Linked DNA regions of Homo sapiens: region 2 is linked to region 1. The links are contacts of gene promoters, found by promoter capture Hi-C in blood cells and fetal thymus (Javierre and others, 2016). All regions are on one chromosome and are shown on one strand. The core of a region is centred on a gene start or on the middle of the fragment in contact, and the rest is flanking DNA. Distances in the headings are between cores, read along the strand shown.

Region 1 (6,671 bases), core at 2,592-5,091:
CAACCTCTGCCTCCTGGGTTCAAGCAATTCTTCTGCCTTACCCTTCCAAGTAGCTGGGATTACAGGTGCCTGCCACCATGCTGGGCTAATTTTTTGTATTTTTAGTAGAGATAGGGTTTCACCATGTTGGCCAGGCTGGTCTTGAACTCCTGACCTCAGGTAATCCACCCACCTCAGCCTCTCAAAGTGCTGGGATTACAGACGTGAGCCACCACATCCAGCCTAACACTGGTTTTCATGAGAAACAAAGTCAGATCTTTTCTGACTGAAAGTCAATCTGAGTTGGCTGAAGGCCTTTTTTTTTTTTTTTTTTTTTTTGACGCAAAGTCTCGCTCTGTTGCCCAGGCTGGAGTGCAGTGGTGTGATCCTGGCTCACTGCAACCTCAGACTCCCGGGTTCAAGCAATTTTCATGCCTTAGCGTCCCAAGTAGCTGGGATTACAGGTGTGCACCACTATGGCTGGCTAATTTTTGTATTTTTAGTGGAGATGGGGTTTCACCATGTTGGTCAGGCTGGTCTCAAACTCCTGACCTTTCGTGATCCACCCACCTAGGCCTCCTAAAGTGCTGGGATTACAGGTGTGAGCCACTGCACCCAGCCTGGCTGAGGGATTTGATGATGGGTTCTGCCTTTGCCATTTCAGACACATTTTCTATAAATCAAGCTAGCTGAATCTACAGCTCTGGAGGGTTTTTTTTTTTTTTTTTTGAGACAGAATCTCGCTCTGTCACCCAGGCTGGAGTGCACTGATGTGGTCTTGGGTCACTGCAACCTCTGCCTCCCGGCTTCAAGAGATTCTCCTACCTAAGCCTGCCAAGTAGCTGGGATTACAGGCGTGCACCACCACGCTCAGCTAATTTTTGTAGTTTTAGTAGAGAGGGGATTTCGCCATATTGGCCAGGCTGGTTTCAAACTCCTGACCTCAAGTGATCTGCCCACCTCGGCCTCCCAAAGTGCTGGGATTACAGGCGTGAGCCACCAGACCTGGCCTCTGGGTTTTTTTTTTTTTTTTTGAGACAGAGCCTTACTATGTCACCCAGGCTGGAGTGCAGTGGCGCGATCTCAGCTCACTGCAACCTCCGCCTCCCGGGTTCAAGCGATTCTTCTGTCTCAGCCTCCCGAGTAGCTGGGACTACAGGTGCCCGCCACCACGCCCAGCTAATTTTTGTATTTTTAGTAGAGACAGGGTTTCACCGTGTTAGCCGGGATGGTCTTGATCTCCTGACCTTGTGATCTGCCCGCTTTGGCCTCCCAAAGTGCTGGGATTACAGGCGTGAGCCACCGTGTCCGGCCAACGCCCAGCTAATTTTTTGTAGAGATGAGGTTTCGTTGCCCAGTCTGGTCTTCAACTCCTGCCCTCCAGTGATCCACCCACCTCGGCATCCCAAAGTGCTGGGATTATAGGCTTCAGCCACCACGCCCAGCCCTTTTAGTATTTATTGAGCAACTACTGGGTACAAACTCTTTGTCATTCCTCCACTAGCAAGAGCAGTGATTTCATGAGCTGCTTTTCAGCCTTTGTTTTCATCTGTAAAATAGGATATCTTCTCTTTGAGGGGCAACAAGGGGTAGGTGTGGGTGGGTGAGCTATAAACCCTAATCCTCACCCAGGAGGAGGTGCAGCCACCTTTCTGGCCACTGGCTGGAGACCTCCCCCTTTCCCCATACTCCTCCTTCCACTCCCTGATCCAAGCACTGCCAGAACCCAGCATTCTCTCACTTTCTCTTCCTCCGTTTTGAATCAGTAGGTTCAGAAGTGCTTGGCTTGATATGAAGCTGGGGGTGCATCCAACAAAATCAGATGCCTAGAGAAGGAGCAGGATTGGGGTGGGAGAGAGAAGACAGATAATTGGGTTGAGGAACCTGGGGGCATCCTGAAGGAGGTGCCCAGTGGGCAGTTGCTTTGTGCTGGGCCCAGGGCCAGGTTATACGTACTTTGAATATTTTATCTTCATAGCTATCCCATTTGGTGAGGCTCAAAGAGCGAAAATGACATTCCTGGTAAATGGCCCTGCTGCAGTTTGAATTTGTATCCATCTGACTCCAGGTCACGTAAGCTCTTTTTGTTTTTGAGACGGAGTCTCGCCCTGTAGCCCAGGCTGGAGTGCAATGGCGGGATCTCAGCTTACTGCAACTTCCACCTGCCAGGTTCAAGCGATTCTCCTGCCTCAGCCTCCCTTGTAGCTGGGATTACAGGCACGTGCCACCACGCCCAGCTAATCCTTTGTATCTTTAGTAGAGACGGGGTTTCACCATGTTGGCCAGGCTGTTCTCGAACCCCTGACCTTGTGATCCGCCCTCCTCGGCCTCCCAAAGTGCTGGGATTACAGGCATGAGCCACTGAGCCTGGTCATAAGGTCTCTTATACTTTTATTTATTTATTTATTGGAGCCAGAGTCTCACTCTGTCACCCAGGCTGAAGTGCAATGGCATGAACATGGCTCACTGCAGCCTCCACATCCTGGGCTCAAGCGATCCTCCCACCTCAGCCTGCCAAGTAGCTGGGACTATGGGTGCGAATCATACACCACCATGCCAGGATAATTTGTTTGTTTGTTTGTTTGTTTTTTTAAATGGAGTTTCGCCTTGTGGACCAGGGTGGAGTGAAATGGCGCGATCTCAGCTCACTGCAACCTCAGCCTCTTGGGTTCAAGCGATTCTCCTGCCTCAGCCCCCCGAATAGCTGGGATTACAGGTGTGTGCCACCACATCCGGCTAATTTTGTATTTTTAGTAGAGACGGGGTTTCACCACATTGGTCAGGCTGGTCTCAAACTCCTGACCTCATGTGACCCACCTGCCTTGGCCTCCCAAAGTGCTGGGATTACAGATGTGAGCCACAGCGCCTGGCCTACTTTTTGTATTTTTTGTAGAGACAAGGTTTAGCCATATTGCCCAGGCTGGTCTTGAACTCCTGGGCTCAAGCGATCCGTCTGCCTCAGCCTTCCAAAGTGCTGGGACTAAAGGCGTGCACCACTGTACCTGGCCTCTTATGCTTTGTAAAGCATTGTCTGGCACCAAAGGCTGTTTGTTCCTCAAACATCTTGAATCCTTTTTGGGAGGATCTGAGTTTTGTACAACTCATTTGGTCCGTTATTGAAACCACAATTCTGTCTGATGGAGACACAGGCTTGGAGAGGAGAGGAGGGGATAGATCAGGCATCATGAAATGTTTCTGGAGCACTCACTCTGAGCTTCACGGTCTGGGCTTGTTCACTGGAGGTCAGAGAGTATATGTCCTTAGTCTTGTTGGAAGTGACTGTCCAACTGGATGAGACCAGATTTAGAAGCCATTAGTTACTACCAGGACTCAGGGAAAATGGCTGCCTGTAGGGGTGGGAAGACTACCAGGAGGAGGAGTCTTCTAAACAGGATGAATGGAGTCTGCCCAGGGGAAAAGGCAGAGTGACTGGCATGAGCATAGGCTGGACAGGATGTGGCTTGTCCTGGCACTGGGCAGTTGGGGGAAGTGAGAGCAGGAGGGCAGGGATTAGTGGCCACCATACCAAGCTTCAGAAGGAGGTTTAAGAAGAAGAAAACTTAAAGGTGGATGCTTGAGTCCTTCGGGCTGGGGCTGGGCGTACAGGCTCAGGTTAGCGACAGGACCTGGTATTTGGGGCAGGAAGGAGACTGCTGGAGGGCTGCCTGGTCTCAGATGTGGTCAGGCCTTCCTTGATCTTAAGTTGAAAACTGATTCAATTTTGGGGAAATCCGTGGGTGGGGAGAGGAAGGAAACAGCTCCTAGACCCATCAGAAGGCATGGTCCTGGTGTTCACCAGCTATGTTCAGGATTAATTACCAAAGGCCTCCATGCCTCTCCCAAGACCTAACTGTTTAGTCAGAAGGCAGATGCTGTTCCTGTTCAGTGGGAACAAGGAGCTGGAACTAGGATGGGAGTTTGTCTCTGGGCAAGTCATGCTTCCTTTCTAGAAGATGGGGATAACAATAATACCCATCTCAGAGGAGTAAATGAGTATCCTGCAGGGTAGCTGGAACAGAGGAGGATAAGCTACAACTGTTATTGTAACAACAGGCAGAGCCCTTGCTGGAGTTGTGTTTCTAGGGGAGGAACCAGTGTCTTCTGGACACAGAAGAGTGAGCTTTCTACTGCTCAGATGCCATCACGTCATTATCCTCCTCCCTCACCTTCCATGGCTGCTTACTGCCTTCCAGATAAAGCTTCAACTCTTTAACTTAACCAACCAAGCCCTGAAGGGTGAGGCTCTGTGTCTGCCCCATCCTTGGTTGAGCCTCTTTCTGCACTCATTACCTCTGCCCCGGCACATACACTAGACATGCTTGTTGTGGTCAGTTCCTCTGAAGCCTGGTGTTTCTCTGGACTCTGCTGGAATCTCTGCCTCTTCCCCTTCTTGCCTGGCTATTCCTGAATATCCTCCAGGACTCTCTCTGGATGTTGCTTCCTCAAGGATACCCCTGAGTTAGTTTCAAGGGCATTCTCAGCTTCTCCAGCACCCTTGGCTTCTCTCTCAGTACTCAGTTCTCTGCCTTGTTATTACCTGTCTGCTTTTTCCACAAGGCTGTGACGGGGAGCCCCAAAATATTTATGGAATTAATGAATGAAAAGGGGTGGTTCTAAGAAAAAAGAGATCACTGTACATTGGCCAAATGTCCCAACAGGTATCTATTATATCTCACCAGGGTAGGAATTATCAGTAACCAAGATTTACAGATGAGGAAACTCAGCCCAAGGTAGAGTCCCTCTGCCTGTCATTCAAATTTCTGGGCACCTGTGTGTAAGCACCATGCTGGGCTTTTCACAGGCAGTATGTGTAGGGTGGACAGGCTGAGAGCAAGCACGTGAGGCCCATCATACCAGGTGAGAGTTAAGGTGCTGACACCTTGCATGAGGGCTTAGTCTCTTGGACCTCAATTCTTCGTAGGGCTGGTGAAGGGTCATAGGAACGACTGTATGTGAAGTGCCCAGGACAGTGTCCAGTACACTAGTACAGACCCAGCAAGTGTTTACTGATTCTTATCTCAGTCCTAAGGATGGGAGTCACAGGCCCAGAAAAGGTCCCTGGATTGAGACAACCAGCCAGAGGAGAGCTGAGTGTACATCCCAGGCCCCCACCCTACAGGGACACAGTCCTCTCCCTTCTGCCCCCACTCAAGGAGTCAGTGTCCTTGTGAGAATCTATGGCGCTGTGGATCTTCTCAACCTAGTGCTGGCACACATGAGATGCTTGGCCAGGGCCTGCCAGATGGGGAGGCTGGAGATGGGTCGGCTGTGATTGAGACCTCTGTGGCCAAGTTTTACTCTAAGAGGCAGGTAAGGCCCTCAGGGGTTATCCCAGAGAAGTCTGAGAGGTTTTCCCTGGGGTCCTGGTCTTCTCCCCCAGACCTGTCAGCAAGCAGTTCATCCCCAGCTGCCAATCTCCTTTTGGCCCTCAGTCTTCCAGAGGAGCTGGGAGGTGGGAGAGAGGGGTTCTGCAGGGCAGTGTTGTTCAGAGGTGAGCTTTGGAAGAAACTGTTGTCTCAACCCTATTTTCACACCATAGCACCTTTATTTAACTGTCTTTTCCCGAGGCCAGGATCTCATCTTTTGTTTCCCCAGCACTCAGCACACTGCCTGGAATGCAGGAAATGGTTGCTGAATGAAGCGATGAATTACATTTCAGCACTCATCAAGTGCTCAGCCTATAACTAAGTCTGAGTGTAGGCTGCTAACACTTAGACCTTTACCTTACAGAATCTTCGCAGCCAGTGCTGTGCATTGGAAGTTGCAGATGGGGAAACTGAGGCTCAGGACTGTTAAGTGACTAGTTCAAGGCAGGTCTCAGGCCCTCAGGATGGTTAGTGGCAAAGTAAAGGACTGGGAGGAGCATTGATGAATTGGGGCAATTGGCAGAGGAGTAACTGTCAGTCAAAATGATTGGCTCAAATTATTAGGTGTGAAGAAGGAACCAGTCAGAGCTTGCCTGTTGAGTCGAATTGCCCAGATGGGATTAGCAGGGTGAGTGACCCTAGCAGAACAAAGAGCTGGCCCTTGTAGGTATAGACTCGACTTTTCTCTGGTTGGTCCCAACACATAGACAACTACCAACCTGACTTTGCACCTGAGAATCTTCAGGGTACCTCAGACTCTTCAACAGAAGGAGCCTCCCTGAGGTCACAGCCCTCTCATCAGTCCCGTTCCAGTGGGCACTTTCCCTCTAACAAAGCCCACTTGCTGTCTTGGCAGGGTCTGCATCCGGCACTTGCAGACATGTGCTAAGGGCCTGTTGACTTGGGAGCCTCCATCACTGGACTGTGGGCCTTGGAGAGCAAAAGGGTAAGAGCATCTCGAGCTCCACGCCTGCTGGGCCAGTCGCTGGCTGAAGGCAGGGGAAGGATGGAGTTTAGCTGGCCAGCACTAATGTCACACAGGGCAACGCCAAAAATGGCCTTTCTCCCAGGTGGGCTCAAAGTTAACAGAAGGCAGTGAGTAAACAGTCCACTGGGGCAATAACTATGCACATTTACTAAGCCATGGGAAGAATAGTAGTCACGTGGCCCTCGAGGGCGGTGCCCTCAGCTTGAGATGGAGTTAACTCCAAATCTAATCACAGAAGGCTTTCTGGAGGAGGCGGAATTTTTATGGCGGCCGGATCCGGCTTTCTCTGAACAGCGAGAAGGCGCTTAGCGCCCTAGGGACCAGGTAACTCCTGAGGT
Region 2 (6,670 bases), core at 1,276-3,775, 390 kb after region 1:
TTCCCGGAAAAGCCTTCTCTGAGCTCCCACCTCCCAGATGTCCCCAGCAAGGTGGGCCATTCCATCTGCCGTGCTCCCACAGTACCTGGCCACATCCCTCTGTCCTCCCCCAACTAACCTCCCCATTAGACTGGGAGCTCCTTGAGGGTCGCACTCACAGCAGCCCTCTGTGAAGATCTGTGGAGTGGCTAAGGTAAAGGGTCCTTTAGCTTTTCCACAGACTCGCAGGTGGCAGAGGTGGGGGGCAGGGAGCGCCAGCACTCACTGTCGGATGGTCTCCATCTGCTCTTTCACGGACATGCCCCCAATGCAGAGGGCGCAGCGCAGGAGTGGTGAGCTGTCCTCCTGCAGCAGGCGGCAGTAGTACTCCAGGATGCCATGGGTCTGCCGGGCCAGCTCCCGCTGCAGGCAGAGGGACAAAGGCTGGCACCAGATGGCAGCCCCAATCTCTGGCCTGCCCTCCAGGCCAGCCTATCTTACCGAGGGGCAGATGATGAGTCCATAGGGCCCCTCGCGCTTTGAGAAGGGTAACCTCTTCTCTTGTTCCAGGCAGAACATGATGACGGGCAACGTGAACACCAGTGTCTTGCCTGAACCCGTGAAAGCGATGCCTATCATGTCACGGCCAGATAGACTGTTGGGAGAGGATGACCCGAGGGCCAATTTCAACAGAAGATGAAGGACACCTAGCCATTGCTCCTCCCTGTTCCAGCCCTCCTCAAGGACCCCAGGTCCACAGTCCACACTCACATGGTGGGGATGCCCTGGATCTGAATGGGTGTTGGGTGGTGAATGCCTTTCTTCTTCAGGCCTCTCAGGATGGCTATGAAAACCAACCGACATCGTCTTCATGACTCACAGGTACTTTCTCAGAGCCCCAAAGCCTGTAAAACTGGCACTACCCCTACAAGTTGCAGATGATGAAACTGAGGCTCAGAGAGAGAGAGAGAGAGTGGAAAAAAAAAAAGAAAAAAAGAGACTTGTCCAAGGCCCACAGGCTAGGTGCAGCCAGGATTTGTACCCAGTGTCTATGCCCAATGGCACTTTCCTCCTGAAGCTTTGTAACAGCAGAGAACAATGAACACGTACAGCTGAGGCAACAAGGAACCTAAAGAAACTCCTCCTCAAATCCCTCCAGCCCCAGTGACTGGATCCAATGCAGATGTGGCTGAGCTCAGTGGGAGCCAGGACATAACCTCACAGGCATTTGATTATAAAAGTGTGGTATCTCTCTCCAGCCCCTGACTACCTGCAGGAAACTTCATTTCCTTGAAGCTCTTGATGGGTGGTGGGATACCGTCTCCCTCCACCAGGATGTGGTATTTCTTCCGCACGCGCTCATGTCGCTCTTCAGACATGCTCAGAACATAACGGGGTGGAGTCCAGCTGTGGATGGGTAACAGGGATCAAGAGAGCCCTGGGAATAGCTGGCCTGGGAGCATCCCTGCATGTACCATCCTAAGCAAGGGCAACTGCAGACTGTACAGACATACCTGGTTTTGATGGGGTCATCATACGTAATGCCCTTAGCCATCTCCTTCACTGACATCAATGCTGAAGAGAGAGACATGGCTCAGGGCTGGCTCCTGCTTCTGAGAAGCCAGATCCCTTGAGATATAACATGCCTGGGGCTGGGAGGAGAAGACTCAGTCCACCTTCTCACTATCCTGGCTACAACCATACCTCGGCCCTCGGCAACACTCTCCAGGATCTTCTCTTCTTCCTTCAGCTGCTTCTCCTTGGCAGACTCTTTGCGCGCTGAGAAAAGAAGTGGAAGATGTCAGACAGATACCAAAACGGTGTACCAGGCTCAGCTTCTTCTTTCTCGCCCAGGCAGTGCTGCCCAGCCCACCTTCAGCCTTCTCTTTAAGGTGCTGGTGCTGATCCAGGAGGCTGACGTTGGACTGAGGGCCTAGCGGGATGTCGTCCTCATCTCCCCGGGGTTCACTACCGCTGTCCTGCTGCTCTTCCTCCGCAGCTCCCTTGCGTCTTCGCTGCAGCAGCTTCTGGAGCTGAGGTTCCACCCGGGATCCACAGATAGGATGGGCATGGAGTCCACAAGGTCAGCGTCAGGATCCTGGCTTTGGGGCGAGGATCCTGTGCCCGAGGCGCAAAGCTGCCCTACCCCTCAGATCAAGCCGTCGGTCCCTCGTTTGTCTGGGGGCCGCGCCCTGGTGTACTGAAGCTCACTCCTCAGACTGCCCTCCTCCCCACGGAGGCCGAGGCCACGCCCGCCCCCTGCGACCCCGCGGTCACGGCCCCATCCCTCCCCGGACGCGTGCCCCTCACCAGTAGCTGCCGGCGCTGCCGTAACGGCACATAGGGCACGTAGTCCTCGTCGTCCTCATCTTCCGCCTCGGAGCGGCTTCCTCCGGCAGGCACCTCGTCGGTGCGAGCCCGCTGCAAGCACACGCCAGTCAGGCACGGCCTGCTCCCCTCTTCACGCCCGCTCCCACACGCGCGGGGTCTCGCCTCTCTCCTACCTTCCGTTCGGGTTCCGACTCCTCCATTCTTTGCTGCACGCATGCGCGCCACGGCGAAACCCCGCCTCATCCTTGCGTGAGACCCAATCCGATGTGAAGAGGCGAACGACGGCGCGTAGGAACGACCTCGGAGTTCCGGATCGCGCAGAGGGACAAATTTGTTCCGGAGATACTATCGCACGGCGAGGCATGGACGCTTTCATGGGTGGTTACGCGACAGTTGCCAGGACCGAGGGCGAAACCGGCTGCAAGGCATTGTGGGACATTGGAGGACTTGGAATATGCGCTAGAAGGCTCAATCCAAGCCCATTGGAAGAGGAAGACGTACGCAGCGGAGACAGCTGATCCGGAGTCGGGGCGGCCTGCCAGGTGCCCAACCTCTCCCAGAGCATGGCGTCTTGGGCACGCCCCTGCCGGCGGACAGTGCGTCCTCTAGGGCCGGGAGCTGCGGGCCGAGTTCGCGTGGGCCCTGCGCTTTCATCCCTGCCGGGGACGCCGGGGTTGCGGGATAAACCGCTCGACACACCCTGCCTCCCTGACTGCGCCTGTGTGACACATACGTTCACTGGTGGGGCACGCATCAGATACGGATGGCAGTGGTTTTGAAGTGGGAGGCCCTGTATAAATGTAAACGGTTATTACTGTAAATGCTCTAACAGAGCTGCCTGGGGGGCGCTTCCAGGGAAGCGTGGCAATCTCAGGCCGGGAGAGGAGAGGCGTCCTGGGCCAGGGCGCTGCAGGAATACAGGTCTGGCGATGTGCAAGTACACAGATTCACCAGGCAACAGCATTGCGGCAAGGGTGGGATGGGGAAGCCAGACCTAAGGCCAGAAAAGGAGATTGCGACCAGAGCATGCCTGCTGTGACTGTCAGAGTAAGTGGTTTCAACTTTATTAGAGACTTCTAAGGAATGACTTGGTCAGCTCTGTGCTTTCTTGCCTTCAAGAGTGTGTGCTGGGCGCTGGCACTGCGCTCAAGCAGATGATAATCAAGACACATACCTGGTGTGCGAGGAGCTTATGTAGATTGAGACTAGAAATATAGACAGATAACTGGTCTTAAAGAGAAAGATCCTAAGACAAGGTACCGCTTTTCGAAGTGTCATAGTTTTCACAGTACAATGGCCTCTTAGCTGGGATGTGAAGGATACACAGGAATTCATGAAGTCTTCTTTAGTAAAGAAAGCTTAGGCTGGGCACAGTGGCTCATTCCTGTAATCCCAGCTCTCTGGGAGGCCAAGGCAGGAGGATCGCTTGAAGCCAGGAGTTCAAGACCAGCTTGGACAACATAGCAAGACCCCATCTCTATAAAAAAAATAAGCTGGTGCTTACTGCCAGTCCCATGGTGGGTCTCAACCTGGGAGGGATGGAGGAGGACATGGTTTCTGGTCCTGCTCACAACACCCAAATACATGGCAATCTCAGGCCGGGAGAGGAGAGGCGTCCTGGGCCAGGGCGCTGCAGGAATACAGGTCTGGCGATGTGCAAGTACACAGATTCACTAGGCAACAGCATTGCGGCAAGGGTGGGATGGGGAAGCCAGACCTAAGGCCAGAAAAGGAGATTGCGACCAGAGCATGCCTGCTGTGACTGTCAGAGTAAGTGGTTTCAACTTTATTAGAGACTTCTAAGGAATGACTTGGTCAGCTCTGTGCTTTCTTGCCTTCAAGAGTGTGTGCTGGGCGCTGGCACTGCGCTCAAGCAGATGATAATCAAGACACATACCTGGTGTGCGAGGAGCTTATGTAGATTGAGACTAGAAATATAGACAGATAACTGGTCTTAAAGAGAAAGATCCTAAGACAAGGTACCGCTTTTCGAAGTGTCATAGTTTTCACAGTACAATGGCCTCTTAGCTGGGATGTGAAGGATACACAGGAATTCATGAAGTCTTCTTTAGTAAAGAAAGCTTAGGCTGGGCACAGTGGCTCATTCCTGTAATCCCAGCTCTCTGGGAGGCCAAGGCAGGAGGATCGCTTGAAGCCAGGAGTTCAAGACCAGCTTGGACAACATAGCAAGACCCCATCTCTATAAAAAAAATAAGCTGGTGCTTACTGCCAGTCCCATGGTGGGTCTCAACCTGGGAGGGATGGAGGACATGGTTTCTGGTCCTGCTCACAACACCCAAATACATGGCTCTTAGTGACCCTGTTAGCTCCCCACATAACCTCGAGTTGGTTTTAGGAGCGAAAACTAAATTTGGGGCATGGAGTTTGGACACAAGTGTGTCAGGGGCATTTTGGGAAAACTCATTGTATTAAAATCCAAATTTACAAACCAGATCCATTTCGGGGGATGAGGTAGTTTGCTTGACTTTACAGAAGAGTTCATTATCCTCTTAACTCTCAAGCCCTCAGCTACATGTCCCACCCCCACTGGAAAATCAGATCTAATTTATAAAAAACTCAATTTACCCCCAACTTCCCCTGACTGTGAAGTCAGTGTGAGGGGCCTCGATGGCCCAGGCTACAGATCCATGAAGGCCTCAGGGTCTTTCCTAGACCTCTTCTCACATCCAGATGCACAGAGACCATCTTCAACCCCTCCAACTCACCCATCTTGCAAAGAGGGAAACAGGAAAGAGTGGGGAAGGGGCTGCCCCAGGCTCACATACCAGAGACCTCCCAAAAGGAGAAAAGGGCACAGATGCCATAATCATACCAGTCTGCGCTCAATGCTAATCAGCCAGACTAAGTTGAGCTGAGTCACTTTCCTATCGGCTTTAGTTTCCTCACCTGTAAAATGGGACAATAGCACCAAACTGCTGATGCATGGTGCATGCTAGGGTTAGTGACTAAGGGAGAGCCCATGCTTCTGAGCACACCCTCAACTCCCTCCCCGCCCAGACCCACAAATCACCAACATGCCAACTCTGTGTCCAAATGTTGCTTTATCTTTCGGCACGAAAGATCTTCACAGTATCAAAAGTAAAGAATTGGAAAAAAACAAAATAAAAACAAAAACAAAAAAACCAAACACAAAGAGAGCAGTGTTGGGCCAGCAGTACCATCAGCCCTGGCCCTTAGGCCAGCCCAGTCCACGGGCTCTGAGTGTGGAGGCTGCGTAGCACCAGGAAGCGGCTCTGCTGAGGTCAAGGGGCCCCAGCACAGTGTGGCATCCGTTCAGCTTTTGGTTGGTCCAGGATGGTGGGGAGCACAGAGGGTCTTGGACGGGTAGGTGGGGCACACGGAGGGAAAAATTATACGCCTTCAGCTGGCAGTCAGGGCCTCAGGACGCCCTGAAGCAGCTCAGCCTGGGCAGGGCCTGAGAAAGAAAAAAAGAGCAGAATCACAGTAAGCAATGAGCCATGCTCCAGCCTCCCCATGCCACTTGGGTACCCATGGGTCTCTGGTAGCAGAAACAGCTGGCTGCTATTTTTGTTCCCTGGGCTGAAAATGTTGAAGATTCCCTGGATCACCTGTAGCAGAGGATGCAGGTTAACGGGTTGGGAGACAGAGCCCCAGTCCCAGGATCCTGACAAGGTGGGGGACAATCCTTGAGTAGATCCAGCCTTTGGCACTTGCTGTCCATCAGCAGGGGCTGGGAGGCCAGCTGTGCAGCTGTGCTCCTGCCTCTGACTGTAGGTGCACAGCCCGGGGGAGGGTGAAGAGGCTCAAAGGAGAGCGCTTACTAGGGGGTGGGGAGAGGGGCATCTTCTATCTTGGAAAAGAGGCCAGACCAGGTGAAAAAGGGTCAAGAGGAGGCAGTGGAAGGAGACAGTTGCATTTGATTTCTTGAATGACAGAACTGGGCTTGTGGGAGGAAATGCGATCTCTTTTCTCTCAGTAGGGATAACAGATGAAGTGCCTGGGGTTCCTGCTACTCCTGGTTCCCATGGAGGTGGAGAAGAGGCAGGAGGCCACCTTGGATCTGGAAGATACTTCTGGGGCTTGTGGGCATCTCAGTTTGGCAAAGGGGGCTGACTGAGCCCAACCCCTTCAGAGGAGAGGAGGACTAAAGTGAGTGTAAAGAAGACAGTCTGGACTCTGGGGCAGCACAAGGGTCACAGGGAGCCCCAGCTCTGAAGGCTGTCCTGGCTGCAGGCTCTCTGAGCTGCCCCTGGGGAGCTGAGGGTCCAGGAAGTTTGCTGCTTAGGCCCAGAGAGGAGCTGGCCTGGCACTGGAAAGAGGAGAAAGACAGGTGGGGCCATCATGGGGGAAGTGAGTTGTTTGTGAGCTCAGTCTGCCT

Evidence for each region. The method cuts DNA at HindIII sites, captures the fragments that hold promoters and counts their contacts. A CHiCAGO score of 5 or more calls a contact.
Region 2: the fragment with the promoter of DDX41 here is called in contact with a fragment that was not itself captured in region 1 in 1 of 17 cell types (fetal thymus); the score reaches 5.2 in fetal thymus.

Annotation. Positions count from the first base shown.
Region 1 is chr5:177,125,266-177,131,936 of GRCh38, forward strand. It overlaps a transcript of NSD1 not described here. Among named protein-coding and RNA genes, the nearest start is that of NSD1, 5.2 kb to the right of the region's middle. RefSeq lists enhancers at 4,200-4,249, 5,839-6,392. The HindIII fragment of the contact is 669 bases long and covers 3,508-4,176 here.
Region 2 is chr5:177,514,436-177,521,105 of GRCh38, forward strand. DDX41 (DEAD-box helicase 41) reads right to left here and starts at 2,526. Exons shown (of 17, transcript NM_016222.4): 1 at 2,484-2,526; 2 at 2,290-2,400; 3 at 1,853-2,012; 4 at 1,684-1,758; 5 at 1,494-1,554; 6 at 1,250-1,386; 7 at 751-823; 8 at 481-634; 9 at 266-402. The coding sequence starts at 2,510. FAM193B (family with sequence similarity 193 member B) reads right to left here. Exons shown (of 9, transcript NM_001190946.3): 9 at 5,354-5,746. RefSeq lists enhancers at 1,768-2,592, 2,621-2,890. The HindIII fragment of the contact is 2,611 bases long and covers 1,056-3,666 here.